Regions from separate parts of the Homo sapiens genome. Here region 1 is linked to region 2. Evidence: promoter capture Hi-C in human tissues and cell types (Jung and others, 2019). All regions are on one chromosome and are shown on one strand. Each heading gives the region's core, a stretch centred on a gene start or on the middle of the fragment in contact. The rest is flanking DNA. Distances are from core to core; before and after follow the strand shown. Region 1 overlaps SASH1 (SAM and SH3 domain containing 1). Region 2 holds the start of PPIL4 (peptidylprolyl isomerase like 4).

Region 1 (7,079 bases), core at 994-3,493, 1.0 Mb before region 2:
CCGTTTTCCTTGGTAATCCTGAGTCACGTTTGGAAAAAAGCTCTATTTCACTTGCCTTACAGACTCCACTGTTCCACGTGGAATGAATGATGACCACTCTCACTGCCATCTCCTTCCTTGAGTAGCACAGTTCCTTTAATGCCTTTGCTTCCAGTTTTCTTCAAGTAACAAATCCAGATAAGTCTGGCCTCTGTGGTCTGAGTCATTTTGCACACGGCCTTTTCTTCTTGCTAGTTGCAAGCATGTAACTACTACACACACATAGTGCCATGAAGTGGAGCCCTGTGATTTGGTCCCCAAGAGTATGTGCTGGCATTTTGGAACACCAGTCTTATTATGGGCCCAGTACCTGGCCCCACATGGCCTATACTAAGCCTAGGATTTTGTGGTCTGGGGTGTCCTGGAATGAACCCAGTCTCTGTGGGACCAAAGCAGACCAGATCCCTCAGGGGTCTGGTGTCAGGCCCAGGTGTCTGCCCTCTCAGACCTGCTTTGGGGTCATAGTCTAGGGACAGGCCACCACAGTGGCACACAAGTTTTGTTTCCTGAAATTTGCTTTCTCAGACCCCAAGGGTGAAGGTGAGTCTTTTTTTTTTTTTTTTTTTTTTTTTTTTTTAAGATGGAGTCTCGCTCTGTAGCCCAGACTGGAGTGTAGTGGCACAATCTTGCCTCACTGCAACTTCTGCCTCCCAGATCCCAGTTAAGCAATTCTCCTGCCTCAGCCTCCCGACTGGCTAGGATTACAGGTGCACGCCACCATGCCCAGAGAATTTGTGTATTTTTAGTAGAGATGGGGTTTCTCCATGTTGGCCAGGCTGGTCTTGAACTCCTGACCTTGTGATCCGCCCATCTTGGCCTCCCAGAGTGCTGGGATTACAGGTGTGAGCCACGCGCCCGGCCTTTGGTGAGTCTTACATGTAGTTTAGCTTGTCCTTTGCATTGTGTCATAAAACTGTAAAATGAAGATTTCATGTTTCATATTTGTTATGATCATGGGTCAGCTAAAATACCCACCTGGGATATATATGAAATGTTTTGAAAATTTCCTGGAAGAGAATTAAACTATTTTATTTGGCTATCGAATTATATTGATTCTTAAGCCAATAGTTTTCTGCTGTCAATCTTTTTTAGAAATGAGAGAAAATATGATTTTTTTCTTTCTCAGGGAGAAGTTTGTTTTTTAAAAAAATGCAGACTAGAATGAGAGATGACCACAATCTAGCTCTTTAAGAGAGAGAAATTTACACACTGAGTGCTATGGTGATGGAAATCCAATCAGATGTTGCTCTTCTAACGACTGAGCTTTCACCATTTGTTCTAATCTCTTTCTCCAGGCAATTCGGTAGTATTATCCCTCTATTCTCCCCCATTGCTGGGATTACATGAACATTGGTTCATGTAAATCACTTTTTTTTTTTTTTTTTCCCTCTGAGAGGGAGTCTCACTCTGTCGCCCAGGCTGGAGTGCAGTGACGCGATCTCAGCTCACTGCAAGCTCCACCTCCCGGATTCACACCATTCTCCTGCCTCAGCTTCCTGAGTAGCTGGGACTACAGACGCCCACCACCACGCCCAGCTAATTTTTTGTATTTTTAGTAGAGACGGGGTTTCACCGTGTTAGTCAGGATGGTCTCGATCTCCTGACCTCGTGATCCACCTGCCTCAGCCTCCCAAAGGTAAATCACTCTTTACTGATGAAATGCAGCCCCCTTGGATGTTAAAAATAGTGGAAAAAATGTAACCTGATAAGAATGTACTAAAAGTAAGTAAAATAAAAAGTGACTCACATCCCACTTTAAGCAAACAAAAATAGTCAATAAGCTTTAATTTTTAATCAAAGAGATAAATAATAGCACTGAGTTAACACAAGAAAAACGTCAAGATCCATGAGGAATGTCAATATTTCTGAGAGCTAGGATGTTAATGGTTTAAATAATAAAACCTGTTCTTCATTTTCTGCGACCAACAATACTTGCAACATTTTGTTTTACAGGGTAAAGAAGGAGACTTTGTGTACAAAGAAGTCATCAAATCACCTACTGCCTCTCGCATCTCTCTTGGGAAAAAGGTGAAATCAGTGAAAGAGACGATGAGAAAGAGAATGTCTAAAAAATACAGCAGCTCTGTCTCTGAGCAGGTATGCAGCTACCTGGTAGAATGTTCCCTTGGTTCTTCCTGACAAGAAAAGCTGAGAATGGCCCTTCTGAGATTTTAAATGGTGCTAAATACACATACTCCTTGGCATTAACCTGCTCCAAGTCCGTGCTTTATTTACGTAGAGAAACACTGAATTCAACACACGTTTATTAAGCACTTTGGGCTGCTCAGCACCGTGCTTGGTGCTGGGAATACAAAATACAGAACTTGCCTTCTGTGTACAGACAAGAGAGACAGACATGTAAAGAAATGGTTATTCTTCAGTGCACTAAGCGTTGTAAATTTGAATACAAAGGAAGGATTTTATTTTCTAAACTATGCCTTGCTACAAAATGGATGTTACCTGAATCAAACCTAAAGCTTTTTTTTTTTGGGGGGGGGGGTGGCAGTAGACTTGTCGATCATAGCATAAGTTGTTCTAGAAGCACATAGCCAGTCTAAGAAATAAACTCAAAGTTCTTCCTGGGTACCAGGCTTTGGTAATAATGTTTCAGAGAGGGGTGTTTTCCCTCATTTGCCTTATCTGTAGCCATGAAGGAAGGTATCATAGAATTGATTTTTCCCCCCTGGATCTATAATTTCATTGCTAGAGAAATGACTGTTTCTGTCTAAATTGCATGGGTGGAGGGAGTAAAGATAGTTGGAGAGCTGGGCCTCAAGGTAATTATGACCATTCAATTTTCAAGACACTCTCCTCCAGCACCTGTATAGCACTCATTTTGTAGCCTGTTGAAGTTCCTGTGTATGAGCTGGTTGTCTGCTTGAAATATGTAGGTAATGCACTTTATCTACCAAATAAAAACAGCAGGAAAAGCAGACATTTTTGCTCAGCTGCTGCTCTCTGGTGGGCACAGTGAGCTAAAACCAAGCATCGCCCCTATGCGAATGACCGAACGTCACCAGCCTGCCACCCACCTCACTTGATTCAAACAAAGCCTGCACAGCAGCTTCAGTTGATTACAGTGGTTCTCACGGGGAAGGGGTGAGAGGCTATCATTTTGCTCCCCCATGGACTCCAGGGCAATGTCTTTCAATGGTCAGACTGGGTTGAGGTGAAGTGGAGTGGATATTGCTGGCATCTAGGGCAGCAGTGCCCAATCTTTTTGCACCAGGGACTGGTTTCGTGGAAGGCAATTTTTCCACGGAGCTGGTGTAGGTGGTGGTTTCAGGATGATTCACATGCATTACATTTATTGTTCACTTCATTTCTATTGTTATTACATTGTAATATATAATGAAATAATTATACAACTCACCATAATGTAGAATCAGTGGGAGCCCTGAGCTTGTTTTCCTGCAACTAGATGATCCCATCTGGGGATGATGGGAGACAGTGACAGATCATCAGGCATTAGATTCTCATAAACAGCGTGCAACCTAGATGCCTCGTGTGCACAATTCACAATAGGATTCGTGCTCCTACGAGAATCTAATACCGCCGCTGATCTGACAGGAGGTGGAGCTCAGACAGTAATGCGGGTAATGGAGAGTGGCTGTGAAAACAGATGAAGCTTGGCCTGCTCACCCGCCACTCACCTCCTGCTGTACGGCCCACTTCTTAACAGGCCACAGACGGGTTCTGGTCCGTGGCCCGGGAGTTGGAGAATGCTGATCTAGAGGATAGAGGCCAGGGACGCTGCCAAACATCTTAGCATGCACAGGACGGTCTGCACAGCAAAGAGCTGTCCATCAAAATGATCAGTGCTCAGGCTGAGAAACCGTGGCTTGTTAGACCTGCAGGAGATAGATGTCTGGACTGCCTTCAGCATGTCTTATCCATGATTTTTTTTCTTTATTCTTTTCATTCTCTTGTCCTTGTGGGTGACGGAGTGATAGTGATTCTATATTTCTTCCCAGCAATGAAGCAGTCAGCATGCTAGTGAGAGCATGCTACTAATTGAAAGCATTTTATTAAGTTTGCTTTTCCCCAAGATAGATTGAAACAGCCACTAAAACTCTTAAGCTTTACGTTCACAGAGGTTTTCTGCTTTATGAATCAGAAGCATAGAATTTTAATGTCATTTTGGCATTTTTCAATAATTTTACTACCATATAGCAATCTTATGTGCTTAGTTCTGTTTTTTTAAAGCAGCCATTTCACATAAGTTAAGGAATAAAAGAAACAACTGATCATTATAAATTTTCTGTAAAGCAAAAATAATGGAAGGTTTTATGTGGTTGTTTTTTTTTTGTTTTTGTTTTTGTTTTGAGACGGAGTGTCACTCTGTCACCCAGGCTGGAGTGCAATGGTGTGGCCTCGGCTTACTGCAACCTCTGCCTCCTGGGTTCAAGCGATTCTCCCACCTCAGCCTCTTGAGTAGCTGGGACTACAGGCACGTGCCACCATACCCGGCTAATTATTGTATTTTTAGTAGAGATGGGGTTTCACTACGTTGGCCAGGCTGGTCTCGAACTCCTGACCTCGTGAGCCACCCACCTCAGCCTCCCAGAGTGCTGGGATTACAGGCATGAGCCACTGCGCCCACCTTGTGTGTTTTTTTAAAAAAACTTTTTAGTAAATATACCAACCATTATGGTAGGGATATTTGTTTTCTCCGTTGCTGCTATATGCCCAATACCTGGATTAGTGCCTGTTATTGTAGGTAATTCATAAACATGTGATGAATAAATTAATAATTTTTTAAAGCATTTGAAAATATATCAGAGACCCACATTTACTATTGCTGTTTTTCAAACTGCGTGCTTTTTTCAGAAGCATTACAGAAGATTTTAATGGGAAAAAAGTTACTTATTTTATGACGCAGAAAGGAGGAATGAATTTTTTTTTTTTAAGGAATTCATACTTTGGAGCTTCAGTAACTTCCTAATAATGTCAGCTCTAGTTTTCTTTGTTGTTTTTGAGGTCGCTTGCTCACTTTCCTCACATTGAAAGCACTAATGTGTGTTGGATCAGAAGCTGCTGTTGCTGATGTCCTCAGATGTTTGCAGGACCTGCGGAGCTGTGTTAAGGCCCTTCTGATGACTCGGCAGCATGCAAATAGCAGGTTTCATTTTAGCTGGTTTTGAGCCCGTGTGGCTGCGGCCATATGTAATATGCCAGAGACTTTTCTATTTTGGCAAGTAAACAATTCTCACTGCAAACTTTCTGAAGTGTGATATCGTCTATTGATGTAGCACCACGAATCAAATAAGCATGCTATACTCAAATGTGCAAATGAGGAGCCGCTGAGAGGATAATACTTAGCTACTCAAAATGCAGGAAGTACTGCTGAGTCACTCCCATCAGGATTCTGGTGTGAAAGAGATTTCCCAGCTTTTTACTGACAACACTTTAGAAAAGTGAAAGAAGCTAAAACTTTAGAGTAACATATGGAAATTTTATGGTAGACTGGAAAATAGTATGTTTGCTGTATATGTGGGTTTTAAATTCATGTTTCCTTATCCAATGCCAATAATTTGTACAAATAGAAATATAAGAATCTAGCCAATTTTTTTTTTCCAGGAATACACTTTTTTAAAAGTGCATGTTTCCTATCCAAGTAGATTAAATATCCTCTGACTACACTTCCAGGTATTCTAGTAATCATGGATTGTACTTGATCTACATTTGAAGTCCAGCCTTGCTACTGGGCTTTTGCGTATGCTGAGTCTCTAAACCTTTAAGTATTTTGTCTGTGTGGTAGACAGATTTTTTTTTTCTTGGAGATTCCAAGAATATCTATTCGAGAATGAGAAATAGTATTTGAGTGCTTAATAAATAGTGACATTGGCCACGACTTTAAAAGTAAGCGAGGATGTAAGTTTAAGAGGAGGAGAATATTGGTTATAGAATCAAATATAGGTATAGATTGATTTGATTGATTTCGTTGAAGGCCAAGTCGCTGAGAATTACAAAACAACACCTGTCCACTCTGATGAACTTCTTCATTTTGTTGAAACCCATGGCAGGACTCGGGCCTTGATGGAATGCCTGGCTCCCCTCCGCCTTCACAGCCCGACCCCGAACACTTGGACAAGCCCAAGCTCAAGGCCGGGGGTTCTGTAGAAAGTCTTCGCAGTTCTCTCAGTGGGCAGAGCTCCATGAGTAAGTCGAGTTTGTCATTGTAGATTATTTTCTTTGGAGTTAATATCTGACATATACTGAGCACTAGGTTCAGGCAATTTCAAGGTGAATAAGACCAAGTCCTGCCCTTCAGGTGCTATTAGAGAATCAGACCAATAAACTCTCTGGACTCAGAGTCGTGTTTGTTTATTAGTAGACATGCAGCAGCAGCAGCCCAAAACAGGAGGTGATGAATTTTGATCGGAGACAATAGGGAAAGCATCTCAGAGGAAGGATCTAGAGAGCAGGGGGAATAAGCCAGGGAGACAAGCACATGAAGATGACCAGCAAAATAAAGGGAGTGGGGAAGGGAGGGGAATTTTATATGTGACTGATAAATTCGGGCCAATGGTAGTTGGAGTTGGCTGAATGGTATGAAGGAAAAGATCAACTTTATTTTATTTTTATTTTTATTTTTGAGATGGAGTCTCACTGTCTCCCAGGCTGGAGTGCAGTGTTGTGATCTCAGCTCACTGCAACCTTCACCTCCCTGGCTCAAGGGATCCTCCTGCCTCAGCCTTCCGCATAGCTGTACTACAGGGTCATGCCACCACACCCGGCTAATTTTGTTGTAGAGACGGGGTTTTGCCATGTAGCCCAGGCTGGTGGAACTCCTGGACTCAAGCGATCTGCCCACCTCGGCCTCCTAAAGTGCTGGGATTATAGGCGTGAGCCACCGTGCCCCGAGATCAAGTTTAAACCTACCACTTTAAGCTCTTTCTTACCCTTTTGGGCAAATGACATGACTGCTCTGAATTTGTTTCCTCATCTGTAAAATGGTTAGAGAGAGTGTGCATTACCACTGAGAGGTCACGAATGTTAAGAGCAGAGTCTGGTGCCTGGCCCTGCAGTGTCCTCCA
Region 2 (7,168 bases), core at 1,215-3,714:
TTTTTATTCTTTTTTACAACTTTTTCTCTTTCCTTTAGTATTTTTCCCTTTTCCCTGTCAAGTTTTTTTTCTTTTTTAACCTGTCACTTATGTGGTACTTAAGCTCATAGTTCCATTTTTTCTTGTTTTTTTTAAAGAGACGTTATATTTTAGAAATACATACTGAAGTAATTACAGATTAAATAGATGCACTGGAGGTGGGGGTATTATAAATGAAGCAAGATTGGCTATGTGTTCACAGCTGTTAAACAAAGCTGGTCATGTGGACATGAGAGTTCATTTACATGATTCTCTCTACATCTGTGTTTTAAATTTTCTATAATAAAAAGTTAAAAAAGAAAAGGAAGAAAGAATGGAAGGTAGGTAAGTCTGGATATGTTGATCATAGATTGATAAGTGAGTATAAATATAGCAGGTACACATGTAAGCACATCTCCAGTCATATGCTTACAAATATGTACAGGGGGTGGACTTATTGTTATGGGCTTATCTTTGCAGACCCACTGCTTGTTAATTGGGTGGGGTAGCTCTACACCCCTTTATTTCCTCATAACTCTGGGAAAAGAGGCCCATTTATTTTGCCAGGTGCTACTCTACATGGGCAGAGCGTCAAAGGAACTCAAAGAAAAGCAAAATCAAGAGATAAAAAACAAAATTCCCTATGATATTCTTTGAAACACTCGATCCAGCCACTCGATCCAAGCTTACCCCAGTATTATGAGGCAACCAATTATTTTGTTTATGCCAGTTTGAGTTGGGTTTCTATCACTTGAACAAAGGGTCCTAACTAATACAACACATTTATATCCATTAGTCATCATAATGAACCTCTAGTGTGTGCCCTAAAAGTAGCAGACATTGTACTGGGTACTCAGGATATAGAGATGATAATTATGGTATAGTTCCTGCTCTCATTGGAGTTTACATTCTTGAGCGAGGGCACGCTTGTAAACAACACCAGGATAATAGGTAAATGTTAAAATAAAATGTGTCATGTGGTTTATAAAAGACCTAAGACACAGCAGAGGAACCCTCAGGTAACTCTGCTTAGAAAGGAGGGAGAGCTTCAAAGAAGAGATGATGCTTGATCTGAGATTTAGATAATAAGTAGTAAGTTTGCCAGAAGGACAATAGTGGAGAAGAATATTGTTTAGAAGAAACAGCAAAAGAATGGTAACAATGGTACGGGAGAGTTTGTAGTGTTTTCGCCAGGTGGAGAGGAGGGAGGAATAGCTGCGTGCGAGGGAAAGCGGAGCACGGCAGGAGGTAGTTATTGTACAATATTGCAACTTATTTCACCTTCTTTGATAGGCTCTGCATTCCATGTGGGTAGGACCCTGTTTGTAACTAATCTCTCCTGGTCTCAGTTTCTTCCTGACTCTGATACATTCTCCACACCGCTGCCTATTATCTTCTCAAAACAAGTATGCCATGCCTCAATCCTGCTTTTAAAGTCTTCAAGGACTCTGATCATCAGTAGGGCACACAAGACTATTCACGACTGACCTAGGCGTATCTGACCACACTCGAGTCTACCATTCCACGACTCACACCAGTCCTTCCAGCCACACCAAACTACTTGCCGTTTCCAGAAAATTCCAAACAAAGAAAGTCCAAGCTAAGAAAACCCTCATTCCCATTCATCTTTGAAAGAACTAGTTCAAGTGTTCTATATAGTATTCGCTAGCTTTGCTTCTTCCCACCCCCCACCAAAGAAGCCGCCCTCTTCTGGTTTCCGTGGCAACTTACACATTCTTCTACCATAACACATAGAAAACTAAAATGGGTTCCTGTGTCTACTTCCCCCAGTGGAAAAATCAGACCCTCGGGGGCAAGAAGCCAAGCCCAGGACTTAGCCCAGTGCCTCGAAGGCTCAGTCCACACTCCAGACAACCTCTTCCTCCTCCACCTAAGCGGTATGCCCACACTCGCTGCGCCAAGCACACCCTAACTGCCTTCATCAAGATTTAACCGATTACACACCAAGCAATAGTTCCTATGTTCCTCTCACGAGTAAACACAATAAAGGCACAAAAGCTATGGGTATTGTATGTGCAGCTCGAATCACACACACACACGCCCCACACACACACTCCCAAAGGCAATTAATGACCGCAAGCACCGTCCACCGGACTGGCCAACACAAAATACGGGAGAAGGGCTGCCAAGGCTCAAACGAATTCCCGTCACAAAAACTTTTCTAGCCAAGGCCGGTTAATAAAATAGCCCAGTCGCGGGCACCAGCAGCCCAGAAGCTCGAGCTCTAGCCAATCTCTGCCCTGGACTGCGCAGAGAAGGGAAAGTAGGGAGACAAGCTCGGGGGCCCCGGCGACAGGTGAGTGGGGCTCAAGCCTCACCACGCGGCCGTTCTTCGGTGTACAAGTCGATGACGACGTCGCCTAAAGTGGTCTCCAGTAGAACCGCCATGGCGCCCGCTCCTCCTCCGCTACAAACCCCGGGAGGAGGGGGGTGACAGGCGCAGGCCGACGGCGTCGTCTACGCCACGCGTCACCCTCGGCGCGACCCCTTTTGCGTCATCTCGCCGGCGCCGCCCCCGGTTCCGAGCAGTTCCTTCCGGTCGGCGTGCGGGCGCCGGGCTGCCCAGCTGACTTACGGATCGGGTTGGTCCCGCCCCCGGCGCGGCCGTTTTGAAAATCCTGGTCCGCCCTTGGCGATTTTGGTGGAAGCCTGTCCCTCAGAACGGTCTCAGTATAGTGTTTTGTGCCCCGTTTGTGTCCGTCTCAAGAGCAGAGCGGCCCTCCGCGCGGCCCTTTTATCCACCAGGGGGCGCCCGCGGCGGGATCTTCTCTCCACCTATTTGGGCGGACTCCTCCGGGTTTCCTCGTCAGTCTCCTTTTCGCAAAACAACTTTGGGCCTCTACTAGGGGTTTCCGATTCTAAGAACTAACATTTTGTTTTGTTTTCTGTTTTGAGACAGGGTCTCGCTCTGTTGCCCAGGCTGGAGTGCAGTGGCGCGATGTCGGCTCACTGCAACCTCCACCTCCCGGGCTCCAGCGATTTTCCTGTCTCAGCCTCCCAAGTGACCACAGGCGCGCGCCACCACGCCCGGCTAATTTTGTTCTTTTATTTTTTGTAGAGATGGCGGTCGGGGGAGGTGGTCTCACTATGTTGCTCAGACTGGTCTCAAACTCCTGAGCTCAAGGAGTTCGAACTCTTCCCGCCTTGGCCTCCCGAAGTGCTGAGATTACTGGCGTGAGCCACTGCGCCTGGCCAAAACTAACATTTTGCCATGCAAGTTTATTCCCCAGACACTCTTCTGGGCAAGCCTGTCACTCTTTCTTATGACATTTTACACATAATCTCCAATAACTTCACATCTGACGAAAAGCCAAAGCTTTTTTTTTTTTTTTTTTTTTTGAGACGGAGTCTCGCTCTGTCGCCCAGTCTAGAGTGCAGTGGCGCGATCTCGGCTCACTGCAAGCTCCGCCTCCCGGGTTCACCCCATTCTCCTGCCTCCGCCTCCCGAGTTGCTGGGGCTACAGGTGTCCGCCATCACGCCCGGCTAATTTTTTGTGTTTTTAGTAGAGACCGGGTTTCACCGTGTTAGCCAGGATGGTCTCGACCTCCTGACCTCGTGGATCCGCCCGCCTCCGCCTCCCAAAGTGCTGGGATTACAGGCTTGAGCCACCGCACCTGGCGGAAAAGCCAGAGCTTTTATAATGATTTACAAGATCCTCTCCTACCCCATCCTACGCCATCTTCTTATTCCTCTGAAGCCACAGTAGACAGTTTGCTATTCCCTGAACACTGCTGACATACTCCTGCCCCATGGCCTTTTCACTTGCCTTGGTTGAGGGACCTCTTCCTCCAGTTATTTGTATGGCTCCCATTCACCTCCTTCAGGCGCTTTGGCGTCGGTCACCCTGTCAGTGAGGCCCTCCATGGCTGCCATAATTAAAATTAACCCCACAGACACTTCTTTTTCTCCATATAGCTTTTTCTCCAGAGTACATTTTACAATCTAACATGCTATTTACGAATTTGTTTGTTTGTTTATTGTTACTAGAATGTGTGTTCCAGGATATTCCATCTTGTCTGTTTTGTTTAAAGCTATATCCCTAATGCGTATGACAGCCTGGTACACAATGTGCAAATAAATGTTTGTTGAATGAATAAATATGGTTTTTCGGTTTGGGTTTTTTTTTTTTTTTTTGAGACGGAGTCTCGATCTGTTGCCCAGGCTTGAGTGCAGTGGTGCGATTTCAGGTCACTACAACCTCCGCCTCCTGGGTTCAAGCGATTCTCCTGCCTCAGCCTCCCCAGTAGCTGGGGCTACAGGTGCCCGCCACAGCGACTGCCACCACAATATTCATGGCTGGGCGTGGTGGCTCATGCCTGTAATCCCAGCACTTTGGGAGGCCGAGGTGGGCGGATCACCTGAGGTCAGGAATTTGAGACCAGCCGGGCCCATCATGGTGAAACCCCGTCTCTAATAAAAAATACAAAAAAAAAAAAAAAAACTAGCTGGGTGTGGTAGCGCATGCCTGTAATCCCAGCTACCCAGGAGGCTGAGGCAGGAGAACTGCTTGAACACGGAAGGTGGAGGTTGCAGTGAGCCGGGATTGCGCCACTGCACTCCAGCCTGGGTGACAGAGCGAGACTCCGTCTCGAGGAAAAAAAAAAAAAAGAAAGTGCTCCCATACCATGTTCCATTTATGCCTGATATGTGTTTAAGGGTTAAAAGTAAAGCCAACAAAGGGAATCCTAAGACTGTGAGTTCTGGGTCATTGTAAGGTTCCTCAGTGCTGTTGAACTGAGCAAACCATTTAGGACAGACCCAACAATTAGTCTTGTTGTAGAAATGGGCCATGGCGGATATTGTAGGAGCTAAAGGGTGTGACGTATTACTAAGTCCCATAAAAAATCCTAACAGACCTAGTGATAGTAAAACACTCATGTTTACTGTTGGTTAATAACTGTTATTCCTGCTGTAAGGATAGTAATTAAGCAAAATGCTACAGTAATTGAGATTCTGTTCGATATTACACCCTGAGGGTGCTATAGTATATAGTAATACTTGGCTTAAAAGGAGAGGTAGAAACGGCAAAAAGTATTTGGTGAGGTAGAGGCGAGACTAAGGTGAGTGGTTCTTACTCCGTTACTTATCTTTTGTGATTTTCAGCTTATGGTCTCCTACTTCTTCGCATTGATATTCAGGTCATTTCTCTGGGCTGTCAGGGGTTGCTCCCTCAGCTTTCCAGGCTTTGACTCGAGTGTGATGTATCCAAAAGTTGATTCCTGTAACTTTTATTGCTGAGGGAGTTGAAAGAATGGTGTAAGGCCCTTCCCAGCTTGGGCTTAGGAAGAGAGAGAAGGGAGAGCCTTCACCAGTACCAAATCTCCTGGGTTAAATAGAGGTGGTCCAATTTCCTGGGGTTGGGGCTTTGCTAATTGTGCTAATTCCTGTTGCAAGTGAGCCAGAGAAGTTACCTGCTTGACTAGCTCAGAGGTTTCTTGATCTAATAGAAAATCATTGGTAAAGAAAGGTCATCCATACAGCATCTCAAAAGGGCTAAGACGAAGTTTTGAAGGGGTACTTTTTATTCGTAGTAAGGCCATAAGAAGAAGAGTGACCCAAGGAAGGTGAGTTTCTTGGGTTAATTTTCTGATGTGTCTCTTGATCATATCATTAGTTTTCTCTACCTTTCCTGAGGATGCGGGTCTTCAAGCACAGTGGAGATGGTATTCTATGCCTAGTGCTTTTGAGACCCCCTTGTGTGACAGCTGCCTTAAATGAGGGTCCATTGTCATTTTGAAGATACCTAGGTAGACCAAAGCGGGGAGTTATTTCATTAACTAACAAACACTTTTATTACCTCAGAGGCTTTTTCTGTACGGCATGGGAATGCCTCTACCCAGTTAGTGAAGGTGTCTGACCATACCAGCAGGTATTGGATGCCCTTTGTCTTCGGCATGTGGGTGAAGTCTATTTGGCAGTCTTCTCCTGGATAACCTCCTATTCTTTGGGGTTGAGGAGGAAGGAGTCGCCTGTTAAGGATTATTTTTAAGACAGACTTCACAAGCATTAACAACCTCCTTAACTGTTTTTAGTAAGTTATCTCCTGAAAACAATCTCTGGGCACATTGATATGTCTTATCCTTTCCCAGGTGAAAAGCTTGGTGAAGGACTTCAAGGACTTTCCATTGGCTAGAGGCTGGCAAGTGGAGCTTGCCATCCTCCGACTGTCACCATCCTGAGGGCCGAAATGTATACCCTCAAGAAGTGGCCCATTCTGCTTCTGTAGGGGAGTACTGAGGTTTAATTCCTCTGATGGAGCCTTCCCACACTAGAGGAGTTTGAAGTGTTAATGTCTTGAGGCTTTCTTGCCGCTGACTTAGCTGCCTGATCAGCTAATCTGTTTCCTTCAGCTACCTCATCTGTTCCCTTTTGATGTCCCCTACAATGCATTACTGCGATTTCTCATGGAAGGAAAACTGAGGATAGTAATGTATTAATTTCCTGGTGATATTTTATAGGGGATCCATTGGTGGTAAGAAAACGCCTTTCCAGGCCGGGCATGGTGGCTCACGCCTATAATCCCAGCACTTTGGGAGGCCGAGACGGGCAGATCACGAGGTCAGGAGTTCGAGACCAGCCTGGCCAACATGGTGAAATTCCGTCTCTACTAAAAATACAAAAATTAGCTGGGCATGGTGGCAGGTGCATGTAATCCCAGCTACTTGGGAGGCTGAAGCAGGAGAATCACTTGAACCTGGGAGGCAGAGGTTGCAGTGAGCTGAGATCGCGCCATTGCACTCCAGCCTGGGCAACAAGAGCAAAAGTCCATCTCAAAAAAAAGAAAAGAAAATGCCTTTCCTTCCAAATGGTCGCATGAGCATGGAAAACTAGGAAAGCATACTTGGAGTCAGTGTAAATATTAGCTACCTTACCTTTGCTTAATTCAATTGCTCTTGTAAGAGCTATTAGCTCAGCTAATTGAGCGCTTGTGCCTGGAGGAAGAGACACACTTTCAATAGAATCAAATTCAATAGAATCAAATAGTGGCTAGATTGAGGCTAGAACAAGTCTTTAATTGGATGTGGGAACCCTCTAACAACAGGGCCTGATATTTAAGCCAATGGAGTTGTGTTCCCAGGGGGATTATGGCTGCCTCCTTCCTTGGAGCAGGTAGTCAATGACTACTGT

The links. Contacts are between HindIII fragments. The study calls those that stand out against the background at their distance.
Region 1: a contact is called between a fragment that was not itself captured here and the fragment with the promoter of PPIL4 in region 2, in 1 of the 25 tissues and cell types used here (hippocampus).

Annotation. Positions count from the first base shown.
Region 1 is chr6:148,525,461-148,532,539 of GRCh38, forward strand. SASH1 (SAM and SH3 domain containing 1) reads left to right here. Exons shown (of 20, transcript NM_015278.5): 12 at 1,993-2,136; 13 at 6,066-6,201. Among named protein-coding and RNA genes, the nearest start is that of SASH1, 190 kb to the left of the region's middle. The HindIII fragment of the contact is 3,300 bases long and covers 594-3,893 here.
Region 2 is chr6:149,543,579-149,550,746 of GRCh38, forward strand. It overlaps PPIL4 (peptidylprolyl isomerase like 4), which reads right to left and starts at 2,465. Exons shown (of 13, transcript NM_139126.4): 1 at 2,358-2,465. The coding sequence starts at 2,427. RefSeq lists enhancers at 2,355-2,654, 3,358-4,034. The HindIII fragment of the contact is 4,905 bases long and covers 1-4,746 here.